5 separate regions of the Homo sapiens genome follow, and regions 1, 2, 4 and 5 are each linked to region 3. The links are contacts of gene promoters, found by promoter capture Hi-C in human tissues and cell types (Jung and others, 2019). All regions are on one chromosome and are shown on one strand. The core of a region is centred on a gene start or on the middle of the fragment in contact, and the rest is flanking DNA. Distances in the headings are between cores, read along the strand shown.

Evidence for each region. The method cuts DNA at HindIII sites, captures the fragments that hold promoters and counts their contacts. A contact is called where the count stands out against the background at its distance.
Region 1: a contact is called between a fragment that was not itself captured here and the fragment with the promoter of SYT1 in region 3, in 2 of the 25 tissues and cell types used here (dorsolateral prefrontal cortex and mesenchymal stem cells).
Region 2: a fragment that was not itself captured here is called in contact with the fragment with the promoter of SYT1 in region 3 in 5 of the 25 tissues and cell types used here (dorsolateral prefrontal cortex, hippocampus, lymphoblastoid cells and 2 more).
Region 4: a contact is called between a fragment that was not itself captured here and the fragment with the promoter of SYT1 in region 3, in 1 of the 25 tissues and cell types used here (dorsolateral prefrontal cortex).
Region 5: a contact is called between a fragment that was not itself captured here and the fragment with the promoter of SYT1 in region 3, in 5 of the 25 tissues and cell types used here (dorsolateral prefrontal cortex, mesenchymal stem cells, mesendoderm cells and 2 more).

The regions. Positions count from the first base shown.
Region 1 is chr12:79,144,261-79,146,960 of GRCh38, forward strand. The region is part of intron 3 of SYT1 (synaptotagmin 1); the gene reads left to right. LOC124902973 (a long non-coding RNA gene) reads right to left here. Exons shown (of 2, transcript XR_007063386.1): 2 at 1,874-2,700. Among named protein-coding and RNA genes, the nearest start is that of MIR1252, 270 kb to the right of the region's middle. The HindIII fragment of the contact is 6,517 bases long and covers 1-2,700 here.
Region 2 is chr12:79,166,551-79,169,250 of GRCh38, forward strand. The region is part of intron 3 of SYT1 (synaptotagmin 1); the gene reads left to right. LOC124902973 (a long non-coding RNA gene) reads right to left here. Exons shown (of 2, transcript XR_007063386.1): 1 at 1-2,700. Among named protein-coding and RNA genes, the nearest start is that of MIR1252, 250 kb to the right of the region's middle. The HindIII fragment of the contact is 6,622 bases long and covers 1-2,700 here.
Region 3 is chr12:78,863,524-78,866,223 of GRCh38, forward strand. It overlaps SYT1 (synaptotagmin 1), which reads left to right and starts at 1,251. Exons shown (of 11, transcript NM_005639.3): 1 at 1,251-1,586. RefSeq lists a silencer at 35-94. The HindIII fragment of the contact is 3,235 bases long and covers 1-1,615 here.
Region 4 is chr12:78,576,812-78,579,511 of GRCh38, forward strand. No RefSeq gene overlaps it. Among named protein-coding and RNA genes, the nearest start is that of LINC02424, 220 kb to the left of the region's middle. The HindIII fragment of the contact is 5,047 bases long and covers 1-2,700 here.
Region 5 is chr12:78,597,786-78,600,485 of GRCh38, forward strand. No RefSeq gene overlaps it. Among named protein-coding and RNA genes, the nearest start is that of LINC02424, 240 kb to the left of the region's middle. The HindIII fragment of the contact is 6,803 bases long and covers 1-2,700 here.

The DNA of each region.
Region 1 (2,700 bases), core at 120-2,619, 280 kb after region 3:
AATAACACCTATTAGCAAGGATTATGCATTCAGCAGTGTATATAAAATACTGGGTTCTTTAAAATATAATAGAGAACAGAGCTATCAGTCCCAGGGCTCAAATCCCTTCCCTGACATTTTTCAGTAAGACGCTTCCTTTTTTACCCCACCGCCCAGAAGGGCATGTCTCAGCAGTTTCCTCAGCCCACATTGGGATAAGGGAAAGAGGCTTCTGATTTTCTGTGCAAGGACCCTTTCCAAGAGCATCCAGATGCCAGGCATCCATGGCCCAGGATGTACAATTCCCATTTACAAACAAACTGGGCTAGACAGCACCAGGAGGTAGATGGCTCTTGCAACAAGACCCATCATCTGGGTCAGCCAGTGCAACTATTGACCCGACACTAGGAAGACCAGAATACCTCTCAAACCTCTTCACACCCTGGCTCATTTCGTTTAAGAGACTTATTTCCCAAGAAATTGGCGTGGGATAAGCTTCTAATAAGCTTTCACTTTAAATTACCAATAATTCTGTTTTACCTTTTCAGGGGAGAAATACTCTTGAATCCATCTGCACTGTCAAAATCAAAACACTGTTTCATCCTATTTAGCTATAGCCTGAAGGCACTTTCTAAATTTTGTGTCATGTTAGTGTTTAACACATTCAGAGCTTGGTACCCTCAGTAACGAAGAGTTTCAGAGTCTGACCTTGCCCTGGACAATTTGTTTTTTTCCTACAAACATCATAGAAAGAGCAAGAACCTTGGTATTAGCAACTTTCTAAGCTTCAGTTTACCTGTATAGAAAATAAAGAACATCACTTTACTCCATAATATTGGAATATTAATGAGGATCAAGCTAGATAATGCATATAAAAGTACACAGGACAGCATCCAAATTACTACTCTTGTTCATTTCTACTCTTCCCTTAAATGCTTTAGATGGTAACAAATCCACTTAATATTCTGGAATGTGTACTATACATGCTTAATAATATATTATCTAATTTTATAAATCTCTATAGCTTTGACTCATCTTGATTAAAAACATATTTTTCTAATTTTATTTAGAATATTAACATTTTTAAAAAATATGAATTAACAACCTTTGTCATTTTGTTATATGTGAATTTTAAAGATCATAATCTTCATAACTCATCAGAAATATTTAAATTAATATTTATTTTTATCTGATTCTTTCTATGACTTTAATAATTTTTTATCTAATTCTTTACATGCAATAATTAGTAATAGCTAACAAGTGTATGGTATGTATGCTTACAATGTCCAAAACACCATGACCATTTTTAATGATTTTACATATTAAAATTTACTACTCATGACAACAACCCAATGAGATTGACATCATTACCAACAGCCTAGTTTTGCAAATGTGTAAATTGTGGCACAAATGTTTTATATAACTTCCCCAATATAACACAGCTAATTTTTCAAACCCAAATAGTTGGACCCCAGAACCCAAGATTTAAACATAGTGGTTTTTTTTTTTTTTTGTTTGTTTGTTTGTTTGTTTTTTGAGACGGAGTCTCGCTCTGTCGCCCAGGCTGGAGTGCAGTGGCGGGATCTCGGCTCACTGCAAGCTCCGCCTCCCGGGTTCACGCCATTCTCCTGCCTCAGCCTCCCAAGTAGCTGGGACTACAGGCGCCCGCCACTACGCCCGGCTAATTTTTTGTATTTTTAGTAGAGACGGGGTTTCACCGTTTTAGCCGGGATGGTCTCGATCTCCTGACCTCGTGATCCGCCCGCCTCGGCCTCCCAAAGTGCTGGGATTACAGGCGTGAGCCACCGCGCCCGGCCTAAACATAGTGTTTTAAGTCCTGTGGAGGAGAGGGAAAAGCAAAAAGCTAACAGCACAACAACAAAACAAAAACCACTTCAGACTTCAAGGAGTTTTTAATCATGAGAATGTACAGCCTGTGTCCTAACCATCTTTCAGCCCTAAACATATTCCCACAGACAGGCAGCACATTCATACACCCTCAGACAACACACTACTCCGTCCTCACACTTTAGAGTAGAACGCAAGTTACAAGACAATGTCAATTAATGTTGTTGTAGGAAACAGTCCATTGGAAGGACTGGAACTGTCAGCTGTATGTCAGGCTCTTTCCCTGTACTGTCTCATTCAATCTTCGTCACTTTAGAGAAAACTGAGGCCTAAGAAAGTTCATTACCTTTCTGAAGACCACACAGATAATTATGAAAGTTTTAGAATTCAACCCTCATTCTGACTTCAAAGCCTACAACACCACCACACCACAGTACAGAGGCCTTAACCCAAACTTCCAGTTTGAGAAGACAATGCTTTGAGTAGTGTGAAATGCTAATCTTCTCCAGACATTCACCTCAGAAGCCAGGAGACATTAATAATTAAACAAAAAGGAGTGTCTGTACTTCAACAATTCTGGAAAATAATAAACTTTAAAACATGACCTTATGAAATGATATGGTAGAAGAATAAACAGAGGCCATTGAAGTTCATCAAAGGATGTTTTCTGAACGTTTTTAGATCTGACCTGGGTTTTAAAAAAATTGTGTAAAGTGTCTACAAAGTAAAGGAGATAAAAGGCTAAACAGCATATATCTACTACTTTTTTTTGAGATGGAGTCTCACTCTGTCGCCCAGGCTAGAGCACAATGGCACGATCTCAGCTCACTGCAAGCTCTGCTTCCCGGGTTCAGGCCATTCTCCTGCCTCAGC
Region 2 (2,700 bases), core at 136-2,635, 300 kb after region 3:
AAAATTTTATTTAATTTTATTTTTATGGTGTGATGCCCAAGTAATGGTTCAATAGCATCACAAATAGTCCTAAACCCTGGGGGATAACATGCTCTCCTTCTATTTTTAGAAATGCAATTGACATCAAAATAGGTATAAAAATACCTACCTCCCTGGGTCTTGTGAGGATCAAATGAGATGATGTGTATGAAAGACTCCAGATGCTATACAAATGTTGGTTGGATTATACGGGAAGCTTTAGAGATGCCTTTGCACAGTGGAAGGATCCTTGGACTTGGTAGTTGAAAAAACTCAGTTTTGCTAGCCATGTTATTTTGAGTAAATCATTTAAATTTAATTCCTCTGTGTCATACTTTTTACATGTAAAACGAGGATATAATTTCTACCACAGTGCTGTTTTGTAAATCACCTCAAACAAAATGAGATCTATAATGAAAGTGCTTTATAAACAATGAAGCATAATGCTAATAGTGTAACAGATTGTTAATAGAGTACTTATTAAATATGGCATAAGTAAAGGAATGACATTTACAACAAAATAAATACAATTGTTTAAGTGAAAAATCTATGTAGAAAGGATTGAGAATTGAACTGAGTTCTTCTGTTGAATACTTACCATATTGCGATCTCAGATTCCCTATGAAAAGGACAAAGTCCTGCCCTTGAAAATGTTAGGATTTCAAGAAGACGTAGGGCATACTTTGGGTATCTACAAGATATAAAGGAAATAAACCCAAAACTAAAATTTGCATTATAAGCCACTTTTATGGTTAAATCTCATTCCTAGCCTGAATAATACTTTTTATTGAGAATCAGTTGTATAGAAAGCATTGTCTTATGTCCTGATTTCTGGGAGAATGTGTGTGTTTGTGTGTGCTTGTGTGTAGTGGAAATGGATTTGAAAGGTATACTACAAAAGAATGTAAATGTTTACTTCTATTCCCTCAAGCTTATATACTTGAGAAACATAAAATTTGATAATACGAAGAATCACAGAATAAATATCAAATGACTTACCCTAGAATGTATTACTGAAACTTATTAAGCCTACTATGTGGAAAATGGTCTTTAATTATTTTTACCAAAGAAACAAGAAGGTGAAATGTCAGGGACTGAATATTTGTGGCTATACTTTCCCCCAAAATCTAATAAATTGCAATTAAAACATTAAGAATTAAGAATAATTATGCTTATAGTGTAATACAGCGGTCCCCAACATTTTTGGCACCAGGGGCTTGTTTCATGGAAGACAATTTTTCCCTGGGGGATGCAGCGGGCTGGGAATGGGGTGGTTTGGGAATGAAGCTGTTGCATGTCAGGTCATCAGGCATTAGATTCTCATAAGGAGCGTAACAACCTAGATCCCTCACATGTGCAGTCTACAATAGGGTTCACTCACCACAGGGTTCACAATCCTATGAGAATCTAATGCCTCTGCTGATCTGACAAGAGGCAGAACTCAGGCAGTAATGCTCATTCTCCATCTGCCACTCACCTCCTGCTGTGCGGTCCAGTTCCTAACAGGCCATGGACTGGTACCCATCCCTGGCAGGAGTTTGGGGACCTCTGGTCTAATACATATGTATGTACTTAACTTCTTTGTCTTCTAGTTATTCCTTTAGAAATGTAAAGAGACAGGGAGCTTAAGAGAGACAACTAGATCTGGTTAGAGCCTTATTTGAGTGAAAGTTGTCAGATTACCTCCCTAAGCCTCAGTTTCCTCATCTGTGAGGGAAGTCCTAACTCAATGGGTTGTTGTAAAGATTCAGCATTATAATCAACACAAGTGAACCAAAACCGTGTCAGGCAAATGCTTGGGTCTCAAAAAAGTGAGAGTTTATTAAGTGTCTCAGTAATCTTTATTCTTAATAAACCCACCAAGTGATAGTTTGATCTGGCAAAGATGGGACGGCACACCCAGCACTAAACTTAACTATTCTCTTTCACACAGAATATTGCTAGTTTTTACTGGTGACATTTTAATTTTAAATTTACATTTTAAATTTTTCTGATATAGTCACTGGGAAGACAAAGGACAGAGTTTGTTACAGTGAGAAAATAACACAATTTTCTGAGGTCTTTTTCATGAAATGTTTTAAACTGGAGCTTTGTCTTTGGAAATTCTTGCTCTTGGACATAGTTATCATGTTGTTTGAGGTTAGCAAGGATGTGATTTTGAGGTCACAACCAGACATTGTTTACTGAATGTGTATAAGATAAAATGAGATGAGAGGGTAATTATCTATAGGTTTGCCTTAATTAGCAGATAACATTTTCTAATTTAACGAGGCCTCAGTGATAATAATCAACAGTCAAGTTTCTAAATAGCTTTCCCATATCTTTGTGGCCATTAATTCCCTCATCTTTAAGTTTTCGACATTCTTTTCAAGGCATCTGGAACACTTGAGCAGCAATTTTCCCTGTTTGCAGCAATCACCAGTTGAATGCTTTTGTGAATGAGAAATTAAATGGGTTTTCAACAATGTAGATAGTTTTAAGTGAGAGTCCCATTGAAATTATGGATGAATCAAGGGACAGCAGGAAGTCTGTGATTTTCTCCATTTGCAAATGTTTTTCTAAAAAATGCCATCCTAAGAACACTTTACAGATATTAACCCATTAATTCCAGTGCCTCATTTTTTTGAAGTAATTCTTATTCTTTCTTTATGGCTCCAAAAATTCACAGAAGAATAGTTAGCA
Region 3 (2,700 bases), core at 1-2,500:
GATAATGGACGGGCCCCTCTCCCAGCTGGGCTCCGCTCCCGCCCCTAGCCTGGCGCGCGGTCCCTTCCCCCACCCGCTGAGCCTTCCTGTTCGGTATTTCGGTATTACCAAGCTATAAATTGCCTGAGAGCTTAGAGACAATCAGGTCACCACCGCCCTCACAAGAGAAAAGCTTCTTACTTCCGAGCAGAACGGTTCAGCTGGGAAGAGAGGAAGCAGGGAGAGAATCTATGCTTTAGTCGTCACTGCTCTGGCAAGGGGTCGAGAGAGATGGGGGAGGGAGGTGGCAAAAAATAAAAATGAAAAAATAAAAAAGCATCTCCAACAATGTTGCACTTGACCCAAGTGTACAAACTTATTGGTCGCTGCAATGGAAACTCCCAGTGCACTCTCCACGGCCTGGCAGCCGCCGCTGATGGGTGGAGTCGCGCTCCCGGCCCCACCTATGGGACGGAGCTGCTTCTCCCGCATCTCGGCTCCACCGCACCCTTCGCGGGAAGTCCCCAGGCTTCCAGCAAAGCTCAGCTTATCCCGCCCCCGCTTCCAACCCGGAACCCCAGAAGAACAGCATGATGAGCCTCCGGCAGCCAGGTGGGCCACCTCCCCGCGGCTCAGTTTGAGGACACTTGTGCGGAACCCTTTCACATCCCCACCCTACCCAGCTTTCACAACTCCGCCGGGTTAAATGGCCAAAGACAAACTTCTACCTCTCCTGTCCCCGGTCCCAGCTTTTCAAAAACCCACAGCTGGCGAACCCACACACATCGAAACTCCTAGGTCGCTGTTGCAGTCTGGGCATGCTCAGTATCAGGGTAGGTTTTGATTGAGAGTAAAAAAAAAAAAAAAAAAGCTTTGTATTATGCTCTCTTTCTCCTGTGCATACTGCTTGCTGAACAGCTTGTGGGGCATTCCTGAGTCTACCTAGAGGTTTTATCAGACGCCCTTGATTGTGTCTCCTTGGGATCTGTTCCCCTCTTACTTCACCCCCTCCCCCAACCCGCCTCCACCCCGCTTCCCAGGTCCCTGTCCGCTGTGGGGATGGAGAGACACTAACAGAACTGGGATGGGCGATGTTGGCTGAACGGATCCACCTATTATTAGTGCGCGGGGATTGGCTCCTTGGCGCAGCGTACCCGAGGTGGAGCCAATCAGGATGCTGGGGCTCGGAGATGATGGGCGGCCGCCTCCTCACTGGAGGGATTCCTGGAGAAGCTGCAGTGTGGGGATGCTCTAGACCGAGTACTGCCCCCAGTGTCTTTCCACCTCCTCCTGCAGCAGCGGCAGCGGCAGCAGCAGTTAGCAGCGGCAACTTGAGGCTGCACCCCGGGCAAGTCCCCAGGGTGGTGCTCAGCCGAGAGGGGGGCTTGGCGCCCCGAAGGGGTGTGTGTAGGGTGGGGGCGACCACGTGGGACCAGCTGGTGGCCCTGGAAAACCTCCCACACACCCACACCCACACACCCCTTTTGTGTTGCAGGCTGCCCCTCCAAGAGCGGAGGCAGCGAGAGTACGCGTGTGCCTCGCGCCGGTCCACGCGGGGAGAGCACTGGGGACCGAGACCCGGCACCACCTCCCGGTCCGCCCTCCAGGTAAGGAAGCGGGACTGGCGGCGCGGCCACCTCGGCGGTGCCTATCTGCTCGAATCCATCCCAAAGATTTTCTTCTCGATACACTTGGGTTTTAGTGGTGGGAGTCTGAGACCTAGGGAGGGATCCCCGGGTGGCCTATTGTGAGAAATATGAGACTACATGTGCATCTCCTGGAAAAGCACTTTGCACAGCGCCCGTGATTTAGAGCCTGGAGTTGATGTTGGGCATCCCCCATCTTCTTGCTTCCTCTTTCCTTCTCTTGTTCTCTCTCCTCCGTCCCCCACCCCCAATCTCAATCTTTTCTCTCTTTCTCTCCCACACCTCCCCTCTCGCCCTCCTCCCACCCTAAGCACGCACAGCGTTTCTTTCTCCTCCTGGAGAGGATTGCCTTTCTTAGAGGAAAGAGGGGGAGTGAAGAAAGGAGAAAGATTTCTTTCTGTTGGGGAGAGGGATATGGGGGGGGGGGGGAACGTAAACAAGATAGAATACAAGCTCTGCGAAAATCAGAGCACATAAAGCAATTAAACTGAATAAGGGGAGTAGACAACCAGTCCAGCTTGGGCTGTCAGAGAGAGGAAGCGTCAAGTTTGACTTGATTTCCTCCTTGCAAGAGTCTATGTCTCTCACTTGATTCGTTCAAATGGAACAAAAATAAACCGACAATCCAACCCACTTTCAACTGCTTAATTGCTTTTGCTTTTGAGTGCCAACCATCTGACTTTTCCTGTTTCCATCTGTCCTGTGGGGCTAACAATTTGGTATTGCACATCAGTGTTAATATCTGAACTTTGAAAGCTTTCTTGAGTAACAAAAAAAAAAAAACAATTAAAATAGATTATTACTTTCCTGAGGTTTCTTGGTATGGCCTGTTGTTGGGGGATCAAAAAATGTAAAGTTTCAAAACATTTGCAAGGGACAACAATTTTATAGGGAGGCTTGGATTTCTACTTTGAGAAAGCTAATCTTCTAGTTAGCTTTGTGTACATGTTGATATTCACTTTCTCCAGTATTAACCCTTTCGTGAAATAAAGCAACTGTTTAACTTTTGTATGGAAGCTACATTTGTGTAGAATTTTCACTTTATTCTACCTTTGTACTATTTGCATTTTATTGT
Region 4 (2,700 bases), core at 144-2,643, 290 kb before region 3:
TATGTTTTTCTGTAAAAGGGTCAAATACATGGTTCAAATCAAAGTCCCACGGCGTACTTGTTTCTTAGAAGAGGGAAGTATCTGTACTGAGCACTGTGGATTGTCCAGTGGGACTACAGCATGTTTTATCAGACCTCTATTATGTACAGGATTCACAGAAGGCTGGAAACATAATACATATAAACCACCCACATGGGTGCACGCACACACATTCACCTAATCATGTAACAATCTGCTTTCATTTGGCAAAAGCAAAACTATTCAATGGTAAAGACTGAATGACCTCTCAGGAGACAAGCTTTGGAACATCATTTATTAATATTACTGTGACATGCTCAAAAATTGCATGTCTTTTATACTCTATGGGAAATGTGATCAGATCATAGCAATAAGAAATGGGATTTTCCCTATCACGACTGCATGCTCATATTTTTCTTGTTTTACTTTAGCTCTTAATTATATTTAACATTTGTTAATACATGTTCACAACTAGGTAAGGCCTATACCCTGCTGAGATATACTATATCTGCTCTTGCCTAGCAGGATTTCTCCTGACATTTCAAGTAAACTATGTAGATGTATTTTCTACTTTTTAATTTTGGGGAAAATTATAGGAAGGCTAATGTATTGTGGTTTGATTCAAGATATGAATAAAGAAAAAGTCTCCCAGAAAATGTCTTGGTTAAAAACATTAAAATGACTTATTGGTTGAAATTATGATTAGGAAGGGTTGAGCTCAGCTGTGATAAGTGCTTTTTAATAATTATTCTAATAAACTGCACTACCCTGGGAAGTATGGTAATTGGGTTGGAATATTATTTGTAGTCCTGATTAGCATTCTGGAAATAAATAAGGAGTCGTGAGCAAGGAGTGAAGCTATGGAGACACAAACAAGCTCTAGGACCACATAGCTAGAGAGTGAAAATGTGAGCAATAATCTACAAATTTGCATACAAGACATCACACATAAAAATATTGCTATCTTGTTCTTCTCACTGATGGAGTGTAACATTGGTTCCAAAAATGAAAAGTCTGCTAAATTCCTCGTCTGAAATCAAGTAGATAAATCACTTATTTCACTTTCCTCCTGGCCACCTTGCTTGAACTGCAAGAGTTTCCCTTCATATTCTTGGTCATTCTGGGACCTTTCTTAATTTGAGGCTACTGTCTAGACTCCTCCTCTTCCTGGTGAGCTTCTGCCCTGATCATTTCACAGCCGCCTCCATTCTTCGTTCAAGTCTGGCATCACTGTCATAGACACATGGTGGTTTTCCTTGGCCATACCGTCTAAGCATGCTTCCCCTGTCAGCTTCTGTGCCTCTTCTTTATTAGATTCATTAGCACAATTCATAATCATATGCTTATCTATTTATTTATAGGCATACTCTCTTTTCCCATTCTAAGTTGCAAGCCTAATGACAGTCATTATATTAAAAATCCCAGTATTTAGTAGGCGCTCCATAAACTGTTTGAGAGAATAAATGTGGAAGAATGTAAATTATGAAAAATTTCAGAGATTATGAGATTCTCATTTATCAACTTCAAGATTTTTGGTAGTTTTCAGAAATTTTGTGGGGTTTTTTGCTCCTTGATTGGCAACTTTATGTGTATGTATATGTGTGTATTCATATATGTGTTTATACATATATATGTGTATGTATATGTGTGTGTTATTTATATATGTTTCACACACACACACACACACAACCCATATCTCTCACTATATACAAAAATAAACCCAAAATGGATTAAAGACTTAAATGTAAGCCCCAAAACTAAAAAAGTCCTACAAGACAACCAGGAAAAACTCTTCTGGACATTAGACTAGGCAAATAATTTGTGACTAAGTCCTCATAAGCAAATATAACGAAACAAAAATATACAAATGGGATTTAATTAAACTAAAAAGCTTCTGCACAGCAAAATAAATGATTAACAGAGTAAACAGACAAACTACAGAATGGGAGAAAATATCTGCCAACTATGCATGTGACAAAGAGCTAATAGCCAGAATCTACAAGGAACTCAACAACTCAACAGGAAAAAAAACAAAAACAATTAACCCCGTTCAAAAGTGGGCAAAGGACAAGAAAAAAAAACGAAAACAATTAATCCCGTTCAAAAGTGGGCAAAGGACATGAACAGACATTTTCCAAAAGAAGACATACAAACGTCCAACAAACATGTTGAAAAATGCCACCATCACTGGTCATCAAAGAAACGCAAATTAAAACCACAATGAAATAACCATCTTACACCAGTCAGAATGGCTATTATTAAAAAGTCAAAAAATAACATATATAGGCAAGGATGCAGAAAAAAGGAAATGTTTATGCACTGTTGGTGGGAATGTAAATTAGTGCAACCTCTATGGAAAACACTATGGAGATTTCCCAAAGAACTAAAAATAGAACCATCATTATACACAGCAATCCCACTGCTAGGTATGTACCCAAAGGAAAGGAAATCATCATACCAAAAAGATAACTGTACCCATATGTTTATTGCAGCACTATTCACAATAGCAAAGATGGAATCAACCTAACTGTCTATCAACAGATGATTGGATAAAGAAACATTTTACATATTTTTACCGTGGAATAGTTCTCAGCAATGAAAAGGATAAAATCATGTCTTTGAGACATGAATGAAACTAGAGACCATTATCCTAAGTGAAATAACTTTAGGAAACAGAAAGTC
Region 5 (2,700 bases), core at 21-2,520, 270 kb before region 3:
ATGTCCGCTTTGATCTGCAAAATAAGACTTGATGGCCAAAGGAGGATTGCTGGTCAAAATGTATCACTTATAACCATCAGTTCTTTAAGAGGTACTTAGTTATATAAAATTTAATACATCAAAAACATATAGCTAATGTTAGGGTGACAGATTTCAGACATACATACCAAGTTTCCTATTTCTTCTATTACAAAGATCAAAATAGACACTTAATGCATCAGAATCATCTGTTTGCAAACAAGTAAGAGATAGAAAATTAAAAGTATATTTAAAGTGCCAAGATAATTGTGATTGCCCTTAAACGGGTAAAATATTAAGCCTTATAAGAATCTTGAAAGAAGCGTACCTTTACGCAGGTATTCATTAAACTAGCATTTTTATTTCATAATGTATTCAAGCTAATACTATGTCTGACAGTGGACATACTTTAGAGACATCAAAACAGTTAAAGGACTTAGCAGTTTTGATAAGAATGGGCTGAAATCTTCTATCATAGCAAGTGTCAAAACATTCCCAAAGGGTTCTCATCTTACTTGAGAAAATAAGATTTGAACATATGTTAATGAAGTGTTCACGTTCAAGCCATTAGGTGTTTGAAGTACTCTTCCTTTGCAGGGAATTGTTGTAGATCAAGTTAAAGCAATATTTACCCTGTTATTTAGATGAGTGTTCTTTCAAGGATCACCTGTAGATAAGTGATGATAGAATTGACTGTTTTTAGTTGTTGTGAAAGAAAAAAGGTAAATTGAAATAGAGTACCTCAAAATACTGAATCTGAATTTTAAGAATCTAGTCCTACTTGTTCTGACAGTTGTGAAATTTGTAGTGATTGTTAATAAGGTCATCCTAAAACAGATACAGCTTTTAATGTTGAATGCAGCATTTGTAACTTGTACTTACTATATATTAGACAAAGAGTGAGTTTATGCCTTACATGTTCAGGTTGAGTAAAATTTCAAAACAACTTTTATCTTGTATTATCGTTCTGTAATCCTTTTATTTTTATTTAAAAAATGCATTCCATGTTAACATTTAAAAGACTCATAATGGATATTCTTTGGGCTGTTTGTACAATTTTTATTGTATTTTTAAAGTATTCACAATAATTTAATTACTGTACTTACTCCCTGTCTCTGAGTTAGGAACAATGGTGGACTGATTTCCACTCTGCCCTCTATTCTTCCTTCCTCTCTTATTTCTTCTTTTCTTCTTACAAAGTGTTAGGGAATACCTACTTTTTACCACAAACTGTAATAGGTGTAGGGTTATTGACTATAATGCAAACACTGTTATTTAACTTCTTGGAACTTACAGTGCAGAAGAGATAAATTAAAAGTTATGATGCAATGCAAATATAATTCTCATGTCATGTATATTATAGAGGCAAATTAATAATCAATACAAGTTGTAGCTACCAATTAATCAAATTAATAGCTACCTATTAATCCACTAAATACTCTCTAAATTAGCTTATCCGCTATATTATTTTGTTAACTATTATTTGAAATCAAGAGAAACTTAAAGTCAATTTGCCTTAAAAAATAAAGGGTTAAATTATCCCTAATATAAAAAGTCCCGAGGGAGGGTGTATTTCCACCAAGGCTCTCACCTCTGCTTTCTCCTTTGCTAGCATCCTTCATGCTGCTTTTGTTCCTGGCCTCAAAGCATCACATCAGACAACCAGAGATGAGAGGAACATTTTTAGAAATCCTAATCAATCTTTGTAATTCTTAGTAGTCTAAGCTGTATTACAAATTCATCAATAAAATGCAGAGCACAACAGCAAAGAAGAGAGGTTCCCAGAAGCTAATATAGGTAGGTACTTTTGACAGAAAAAAGGAGGCAATAGAAGTTGAAGAGGCTGTCAAGATCCATTCTTTTCAGCACAGCTCGCAGTTCACTGAACATCAAATAACGTCACGGTACAGTCTACCTTTGAAGGTGGGAAAATGAAAGGCAATACTTTTATAAAATATTTGGTTTTATGGTACTCTTATAGAAAAAATAATATAGTTATAAAATATTATATTACGTGTTTTCCAGGAAGTTTTTCACCATTTTTAAACATTCATTTTTCTCTTCACAATTCCTTGGCAGGCATTGTAAGTAGAGAAACTCTGACACTGAACTATTAAAACATTTACACAAATTCAAACCTGGTTGATACCAGTGCCTTTCATGATTGCATACTTTTCACATGTTTGTATATGTTGCATATATTGCAACGTGTTGTCATATATTAATATACATAAATCTCATATATTAATATATATAAATCTCATTGCCACATCTTAATAAAAACTGGAAATGGAGAATCACACCCAGTGCTTTATTCATGTTAAGTGAACAATGTATTTTTCTTGTTGATGCTGATGTTGTTGTTCTTGCTTGGTCATTAAGTGACTGCTTGACTTTTACCAATTTTCTTAATTTCTGTGTGCCTCAGTTTCTTAATCTCAAAAATAGGGGTATTGAGGCCCTGCTATTAAACTAAAAACATTGCAATGAGAATAAATTATATTAACAGATATAAAGTCACATGCACAAATAATACACAAATACGAATTGGTAATGTTCATATTTGTGTATTCATATTCAAATTCAAATTCATAGTCAAATAAAATAATAAAGAAGCTCTAAAACATGGTTATCAACTACTGGGAAATGTTTCCTGCATATGTAAAACATTATATATTATAA